2 separate regions of the Homo sapiens genome follow, and region 1 is linked to region 2. The links are contacts of gene promoters, found by promoter capture Hi-C in blood cells and fetal thymus (Javierre and others, 2016). All regions are on one chromosome and are shown on one strand. Each heading gives the region's core, a stretch centred on a gene start or on the middle of the fragment in contact. The rest is flanking DNA. Distances are from core to core; before and after follow the strand shown.

What was found. Contacts are between HindIII fragments. The CHiCAGO score rates a contact against its expected background, and 5 or more counts as called.
Region 1: a fragment that was not itself captured here is called in contact with the fragment with the promoter of DNM2 in region 2 in 7 of 17 cell types (neutrophils, endothelial precursors, monocytes and 4 more); the score reaches 12.8 in neutrophils.

The regions. Positions count from the first base shown.
Region 1 is chr19:10,852,500-10,856,497 of GRCh38, forward strand. C19orf38 (chromosome 19 open reading frame 38) reads left to right here. Exons shown (of 7, transcript NM_001136482.3): 3 at 3,766-3,858. Among named protein-coding and RNA genes, the nearest start is that of C19orf38, 6.1 kb to the left of the region's middle. The HindIII fragment of the contact is 2,363 bases long and covers 151-2,513 here.
Region 2 is chr19:10,715,837-10,719,678 of GRCh38, forward strand. DNM2 (dynamin 2) reads left to right here and starts at 2,243. Exons shown (of 21, transcript NM_001005361.3): 1 at 2,243-2,567. The coding sequence starts at 2,407. MIR638 (microRNA 638) reads left to right here and starts at 2,568; the gene lies at 2,568-2,667. RefSeq lists enhancers at 1,322-1,511, 1,702-1,821, 3,262-3,401 and a silencer at 2,102-2,771. The HindIII fragment of the contact is 21,985 bases long and covers 1-3,842 here.

The sequences.
Region 1 (3,998 bases), core at 82-2,581, 140 kb after region 2:
CTGAAGTAGAGTAGGGCAATCAGGGAAGCCCTCTCTGAGGAGGTGGCATTTGAGCAAAAAACTGAATGATGAGGAGGAGCCAATCATGTGGATATCCAGGGCATGTGTTGCAGGCAGAGGATACAGGATGTGCAAAGGCCCCGAGGCTGAAGCTTCCCTGGTGTGTCTGAGGAGCCCAGTATGGCTGAAGGATGGTGAACAAGGAGGAAAATGGGGAGAGGCGGGGCAGGGAGTTCACCAGGAGGATCGTGGGGGGTCTTGTAGACCACAGCAAGGATTCGATCTTTTCACCTGAGTGAGGGAACCCTGGCAGGGCTGATGTCCTTTTCTGATCTCTGAATGAGGAGGCTGGACATGGGTTATGGGTCAAGAAGCAGGAGGGAGGAGCCTTTGGTGGCCTTCTGTGTTACCATCAGTCAGAACTTTCCTGGCCGGGTGCAATGACCCACGCCTATAAGCCCAGGACTTTGGGAGGCTGAGGCAGGACGATTCCTTGAGCCAAGGAGTTCAAGATCAGCCTGGGCAACATAGTGAGACCCTGTCTCTACAAAAAAAAAAAAAAATTATTTTATTTTTTTTTTAGATAGGGGTCTTGCTTTGTTGACCAGGCTAGAGTGCAGTGGCGCAATCACAGCTCACTGCAGCCTCCACTTCCTGGGCTCAATCAATCTTCCCTTCTCAGTCTCCCTAGCAGCTGGGACTACAGCCGTGCACCACCACGCCTGGCTAATATGTCTATTTTTTGTAAAGACAGGGACTCACTCTGTCGCCCAGGCTGGAGTGCAGTGGTGTGACCCCAGCTCACTGCAATCTCTACCTCCGAGGTTCAAGCAATTCTCCTGCCTCAGCCTCTCGAGTCTCACTGCAACCTCTACCTCCGAGGTTCAAGCAATTCTCCTGCCTCAGCCTCCCGAGTAGCTGGGATTACAGGCGTGCACCACCATGCCCAGCTACTTTTTGAGTTTTAGTAGAGATGGGGTTTCACAATGCTGGCCAGGCTGCTCTCAAACTCCTGACCTCAGGTGTTCTGCCTGCCTCGGCCTCACAAAGTGCTGGAATTACAGGCGTGAGCCACCATGCCCAGCTCCCCCCAATTTTTTTTTTTTTTTTGAGACAGTCTCGGTCTGTCGCCCAGGCTGGAGTACAGTGGCACGATCTCGGCTCACTGCAACCTCTGCCTCCCGGGTTCAAGCGATTCTCCTGCCTCAGAGCCTCCCGAGTAGCTGGGACTACAGGCATGTGCCACCATGCCCAGCTAATTTTTTGTATTTTTTTTTTTAGTAAGAAGGGGTTTCACAGTGTTAGCCAGGATGATCTCAATCTCCTGATCTTGTGATCCGCCCACCTCAGCCTCCCAAAGTGCTGAGATTACAGGCGTGAGCTACCCCGTCCGGCTAATGTTTTTTTTTTTTTTTTTTTAATTAGGAGGGACTGCTGGCATGTGTCAGTAGGCTGAGGCAGGTGGATCACTTAAGCCGGGGAGGTAGAGGATATAGTGAGCCATGATCGCACCACTGCATTCCAGCCTGGGTGACAGAGGGAGACCCTGTCTGTAAAAACTTTTTTTTTTTTTTAATTTTTGAGACAGAGTCTCACTCTGTCGCCCAGGCTGAAGTGCAGTGGCCCAATCTCGGCTCACTGCAACCTTTGCCTCCCAGGCTCAAGCGATTCTCGTGCCTCAGCCTCCCGAGTAGCTGGGACTACAGGCGCCAACCACCACACCCTGCTAATTTTTGTATTTTTTAGTAGAGATGGGGTTTCACCATGTTGGCCAGGGTGGTCTTCAACTCCTGACCTCAAGTGATCCGCCCACATCGGCCTCCCAAAGTGCTGGGATTACAGCCATGAGCCACCGCGCCTGGCCCAAAAAAACTTTTAAAAAGAACTTTTTCACTGCAAAAAATAATCTTGTTGCCAGCCGAGGCCAACATGCAGCTATGACAGGGCAGTTCTCTGTCCTTCCCGGCCTCAGGCTCCTCTATCAAAGGCCCCCTTCTCTCACCTTGGCCTTGTGGCCTTGGAGTAGGGAGCTGACAACACCCCTTCTGCCCCAGGTGAATCAATGAACAAGGCTGACATTGTGAGAATACCAAGCGTCTGTCTTCTTCCCTCTTCTGGCTTAGCTCCTCACCTCCCTTGGGGTCAGGGCATCTCCTCTTTCTCCAGGAAGGGGAAGCGAAGTCTTGTGCTGAGAAGGTGACTCTGGAACTGCCACTCCCATGCCTGTGTGACTAGCTTCTGGGTGGATCTCAGGGTCTACCGTTGGGCTGGGGGTGGATGTCATCTGGCCACTGGCACCCAGACTGCAAGTAATAAAAACCTGACTCACACTGGCTCTACCAGCAAGAGGGGATTTGTTGGTTCACTGAGCTGAAGTCAGTTTACATGGCTGACTTCAGATATGGCTGGATCCAGGTGCTGAAAAATGACAGAAAGCATTTGCCTTCTCAGCTCCTCTTCTGTCTTATTCTCAGGTAGTTTCTCCCCCTCATGGAGGCAAGATTGTGCCCTGAAGCTTCAGATATATATTCTTTTTTTTTTTTTTTTTTTTTTTTTGAGACAGATTCTAGCTGTGTCACCCAGACTGGAAGGCAATGGCCCAATCTCGGCTCACTGCAACCTCCACCTTTTGGGTTCAATCGATTCTCCTGCCTCAGCGTCCCAAGTAGCTGGGATTACAGGCACGTAACACCTGGCTAATTTTTGTATTTTTAGTAGAGACGAGGTTTCACTATGTTGGCCAGGTTGATCTCGAACTCCTGACCTCAGGTGATCCACCCACCTCAGTCTCCCAAAGGGCTGGGATTACAGGCGTGAGCCACCGTGCCCAGCCATCTCTTTTTTTGTTTGTTTCTTCAGATGGGGTCTCTCTGTGTCACCCAGGCTGGAGTGCAGTAGCACGATCTCAGCTCAGTGCACCCTCCACTTCCCGGGTTCAAACTATTCTTGTGCCTCAGCCTCTGAAGTAGCTGGAATTACAGGTGTGCACCACACCTGGCTAATTATTTGTGGGGTTTTGTTGTTTTTTGTTTTGTTTGTTTCTTTTTGAGACAGAGTCTTGCTCTGTCACCCAGGCTGGAGTTCAGTGGCGCCATCTCAGCTCACTGCAACCTCCGCCTCCCGGGTTCAAGTGATTCTCCTGCCTCAGCCTCCTGAGTAAGTGGGACTACAGGCACGTGCCAGCACGCCTGGCTAATTTTTTGTATTTTTAGTAGAGACGGGGTTTCACAGTGTTAGCCAGGATGGTCTCGATCTACTGACCTAGTGATCCACCTGCCTTGGCCTCCCAAAGTGTGGGGATTACAGGCGTGAGCCACTGCGCCTGGCCAATTATTTATATTTTTAATATAGACAGAATTTCCCTGTGTTGGCTAGGCTGGTCTTGAGCCCCTGGCCTCAAGTAATCCACCTGCCTCAGCCTCCCAAAGTGTTGGGATTACAGGCATGAATCACCGCACCTGGCCTAAGATATCTATCCTATGCAATGCTAGCCAGAGGAGTAAACCTCTTTTCCCAGTGGTACCACCAAAGTCCCAGAGTTAGCTCTCATTGGCTCCACTTGGGTTACATGCTCATCCTGAACCAATCACAATAGCCAGGAGCGGGGGATAGGCTAATTGGCCAGACACAAAGTTTGCTAAGTCTCTTGGGTCCAGCTGCATTCATGTTCTTTGGTTGGGGGTTATGGGGTAAGGGCTGGCTACTCAAAGGTAACCTGGAGAGACGACACTGACCTGCCCACTCTCTTTTCTGATTTTCCTCCAGTGCCCACTTGGATCTTGGTGCTCTCCCTGAGCCTGGCTGGTGCCCTCTTCCTCCTTGCTGGGCTGGTGGCTGTTGCCCTGGTGGTCAGAAAAGGTAACAGCACGCAAAGCCTGGCACACAAGTTGCCAGTTGACAACTTCTGGAACGTGAAGATGTGCTTACACTCACAACTCACACCATTTTGTTTTCAGGTTCAGTAATTTGTTCATCACACCCCTTTTAAAAGTATTTAT
Region 2 (3,842 bases), core at 993-3,492:
GCAATTTTCCGTGTGTACATATGGTTTTCATGCATGTCAGCATCCTTCACACACAGTTCTGTACCTTGCTTGTTTTTTCCTCTTAGTATATCTCAAATTATTTATACTTCAGTACATGAAGAGTTTCCTCAACGTTTTTGTTTGTTTGTTTATTTGTTTTTGAGACGGGGTTTTGCTCTTGTTGCCCAGGCTGGAGTGCAGCGGTGCGATCTCAGCTCACCGCAACTTCTGCGTCCCGTGTTCAAGCGATTCTCCTGCCTCAGCCTCTCGAGTAGCTGGGATTACAGGCACGCACCACCACGCCTGGCTAATTTTTTGTATTTTTAGTAGAAACGTGGTTTCACTATGTTAGCCAAGCTGGTTTCGAACCTCTAACCTCAGGTGATCTGCCCTCCTTGGCCTCCCAAAGTGCTGGGATTACAGGCATGAGCCACCGCACCTGGCGCTTTTTGCCTATTTCTTTGAGACCTGGGGTTTTGGGTCACAAAACAGGCAAATGCCATGAGCCACCCTCCTCCTCTTTCTCCATCTTCTTGTGCTGCCTCAGGTCAGAGCACTTACCTGCTCCTGCCTTCTCACTGGGTTTCCTTGTCTCTGGCCTATTTGTCTCCAGAGGGGTCAAAACACTTCAAATCCTCCTATTTGTCTCTGTCCACTGTCAGGAGTTCCAGTTCCCAGAACCCCAATTTTGCCTACAAAATAGCGTGTCTTTTCACGGGGAGAGGATTTGTTGAGTTTTAGTGGGTACTCAAAAAGATCTAAAGCCAGTTGGGGGGGTTCACACATGTAATCCCAGCACTTTTGGGAGGCCGGCCTGTGAGGGTCGTTTGGGCGCAGGAGTTTGAGACCAGCCTGGACAACACAGCAAGACCCTGTCTCTATAAAAAATAAAATAAAAATAATTAGCTGGGCATAGTTGCGCACGTCTGTGGTTCCAGCTACTCGGGACGCTGAGGCGGGAGGATCGTTTGAGCCCAGGTGCTTGTTGAATTGAGCTATGAGTGCACTACTGCACCCCAGCCTGGGCAACAGAGTAAGGACCCAGTTTCTAAGAAAAGAAGATTCATTAGCTAGACGCGGTGGCTCACACCTGTAATTCCAACACTTTGGGAGGCCAAGACGGGCGGATCACTTGAGGCCAGGCGTTCGAGACCAGCCTGGCCAATATGGTGAAACCCCGTCTACTAAAAATACAAAATTAGCTGGGCGTGGTGGCTCACACTTGTAATCCCAGCTATTCGGGAGGCTGAGGCAGGAGAATTGGTTGAACCGGGGAGGCGGAGGTTGCAGTGAGCCAAGATCGCGCTACTGCACTCCAGCCTGGGTGACAGAGTGAGTACCCCGCCTCAAAAAAAAGAAAAGAAAAAAGATTCATGATCTGCTAAAGTTGAAGAAGTGGGGGAAAACATTGGAGTGTTAGCGGCGTCAAGATCGGGCGTGAGCAGAAAGGGCACAGCATTTGCAAAGGCGTGGAGGAGTGATTTTATTGCGTTCTATCCCTAGGAAGCAATGACTTGGCCTCTACCATTTGCAGAGCGCATTGGGACCCTGCTCCCAGAGCTGGTTTGCAGTCTGGGAACTGAGATGCGCTCTGGGACTTGTAGTTTTCCCCAGTGCCAGGAAACTCAAAAATCGAGACATCGGATCCCACCACGAGGTGTCGCCCTTGAGCGAGTACGGTGGGATCTATCCTATACTTCAGAAGGCTGTTGCAGACATCCAACAATCACAAGGAAGAACGGGAGTTTTTCTGATTGACAGATATGGTTCTCAATGATAGTCAAGATTCGGATGTTAAAGCCCGCCCTCTTTTGCCTGGTTGGCTGGAGCAACGAAGTGATATTTATATGAACCAATGGGAAATTCTTAGGGAACGAGGTAGTAGCTCAATCCCCAACACCATTGGTCCACATTGTCTACTGGCACGTCTGCCTGCCAATAAGATGGTGGAACTTCGCCAATGGGCAGAGCCAACGTGCCTTTTTCGGAAACACCCCCTTCCTCTCTTGACAACTTGCTTTCTGCCGCTATTGGCTGTTGCACAACAGTGACGGTTCTTTTGTCCAATAAGTCAGCAAGACGGTCCCCAGGGGGAAGGTTTACTCAACCATAGGCCCGTGCCTAGTTTTTATTGGCTAGTGTATCCGAGTGGCGGTGCAGCAGGCCAGTCGCGTGCGGCGCGAGTGCTTTGGGCGCAGCCCCCGGGGCCGGGGCGGGAGGTCGCTCGGGTCGGGTGTCGCCTGAGAACCGGATGAGGCGGCGACCGTGAGGCCGAGCCGGGAGCGGGCGTCTTGCCGAGGCCCGGGCGGGCGGGGAGCAACGGCTACAGACGCCGCGGGGCCAGGTCGTTGAGGGTCGGCGGCGGGCGAGGAGCGCAGGGCGCTCGGGCCGGGGGCCGCCGGCGCCATGGGCAACCGCGGGATGGAAGAGCTGATCCCGCTGGTCAACAAACTGCAGGACGCCTTCAGCTCCATCGGCCAGAGCTGCCACCTGGACCTGCCGCAGATCGCTGTAGTGGGCGGCCAGAGCGCCGGCAAGAGCTCGGTGCTGGAGAACTTCGTGGGCCGGTGAGCGGGCGCGGCAGGGATCGCGGGCGGGTGGCGGCCTAGGGCGCGGAGGGCGGACCGGGAATGGCGCGCCGTGCGCCGCCGGCGTAACTGCGGCGCTTGCGTGCCCGCGGCGGGGAACCGGACGGGGTCGGGGAGGCGGGCCCTGTGGGACGCCCTGGGCAGAGGACTCCCTGCAGGGGCTCCGGAGCAGGCCCGGGCCCCAGGGGCGGTGTCACGGGCCAGGGCGCCGTAGGACAGGAGGTGCGCTGGAACCCTGCGGTCCATCTGGTCCCAGCTTTCGTGGGTGAAGTCTGCCATCTGGTTGGCCGTGGGTCTGGGGTAGATCCCTCTTCTGCTCTTTCGGGCTGTCCATCAGAGGTGAAACCGGCCATCTAGATATCTATTGGGGCGACCGCTGCGGTCTGGCTGGCTTGTTCTTGTATCTGGAGCTGCCCCCGCCGTCTGGTTGGCTGTCTCTCTGTCCTGGGCAAGCCTCCCTGCCACCACCATTTGGTTGTCCATCTGTCCAGTCCCACCTGGCAGCCCCCTGCTGTCTGGCTAGCTGTCCAGGGTGACCTCTGCTGTCTGGCCGCCCATCCGTGCCCCTCACAGACTTTAACACTGAGCAGTCCCTCTGTTGGGTGACACCAGCTGGCCTCTACTGTCTGACTGGCTAGCTGACTCCTAGGGGACCCTGTTTGATTCTCTCTGGCTGACTCTTACAGCTTGATTCCTGGCTAGCGCTGGCTCCTCTCTTCCGTGTGAATTCTTCTGTCTGTCTGGCCATCTCCTAGTCTGCCCATGACTACCCCTGAGTGTCTGGCACAACGGCTCTGGAAAGGGGTGGTAGGAGGGTAGAGGGGAGAACAGAGCTGAAGGAGGAGGTTTGGACCCTACTTCCCCTCTCAGCTGGAAGGAGGACTCTGGGGGTACCTTACTTCAGGATTCCTTTCCGAGTGCTAGAACACAGGGGCCCGCCTCCCAGCTACAGCCTACAAATTGGGGGCCCTCCTTTGGAGCCTGGGAAGGGGCTTCTTGCGTGATCAGGCCTCAGTGGCTAGCGCTGGGATGTAGCCTTCTCTGGACAGCCTTGAGAAGCCGCGGTGTGCCCATCTGTCCAGTGGGCAAACTCCACTCTCTGGGGCTGTTTCCAGGATTCAGGAAGCAAATGAATGAGAACAGCCCGTGCAGCCACCTCTCCCTCCCACCAACCCCTCTTGCCTTTCTTGTCTCCCAGATGGGCGGCCACTTCTCCATTCCAGGAACTACTCATTTGTGGTGGTGTGGCTGCCA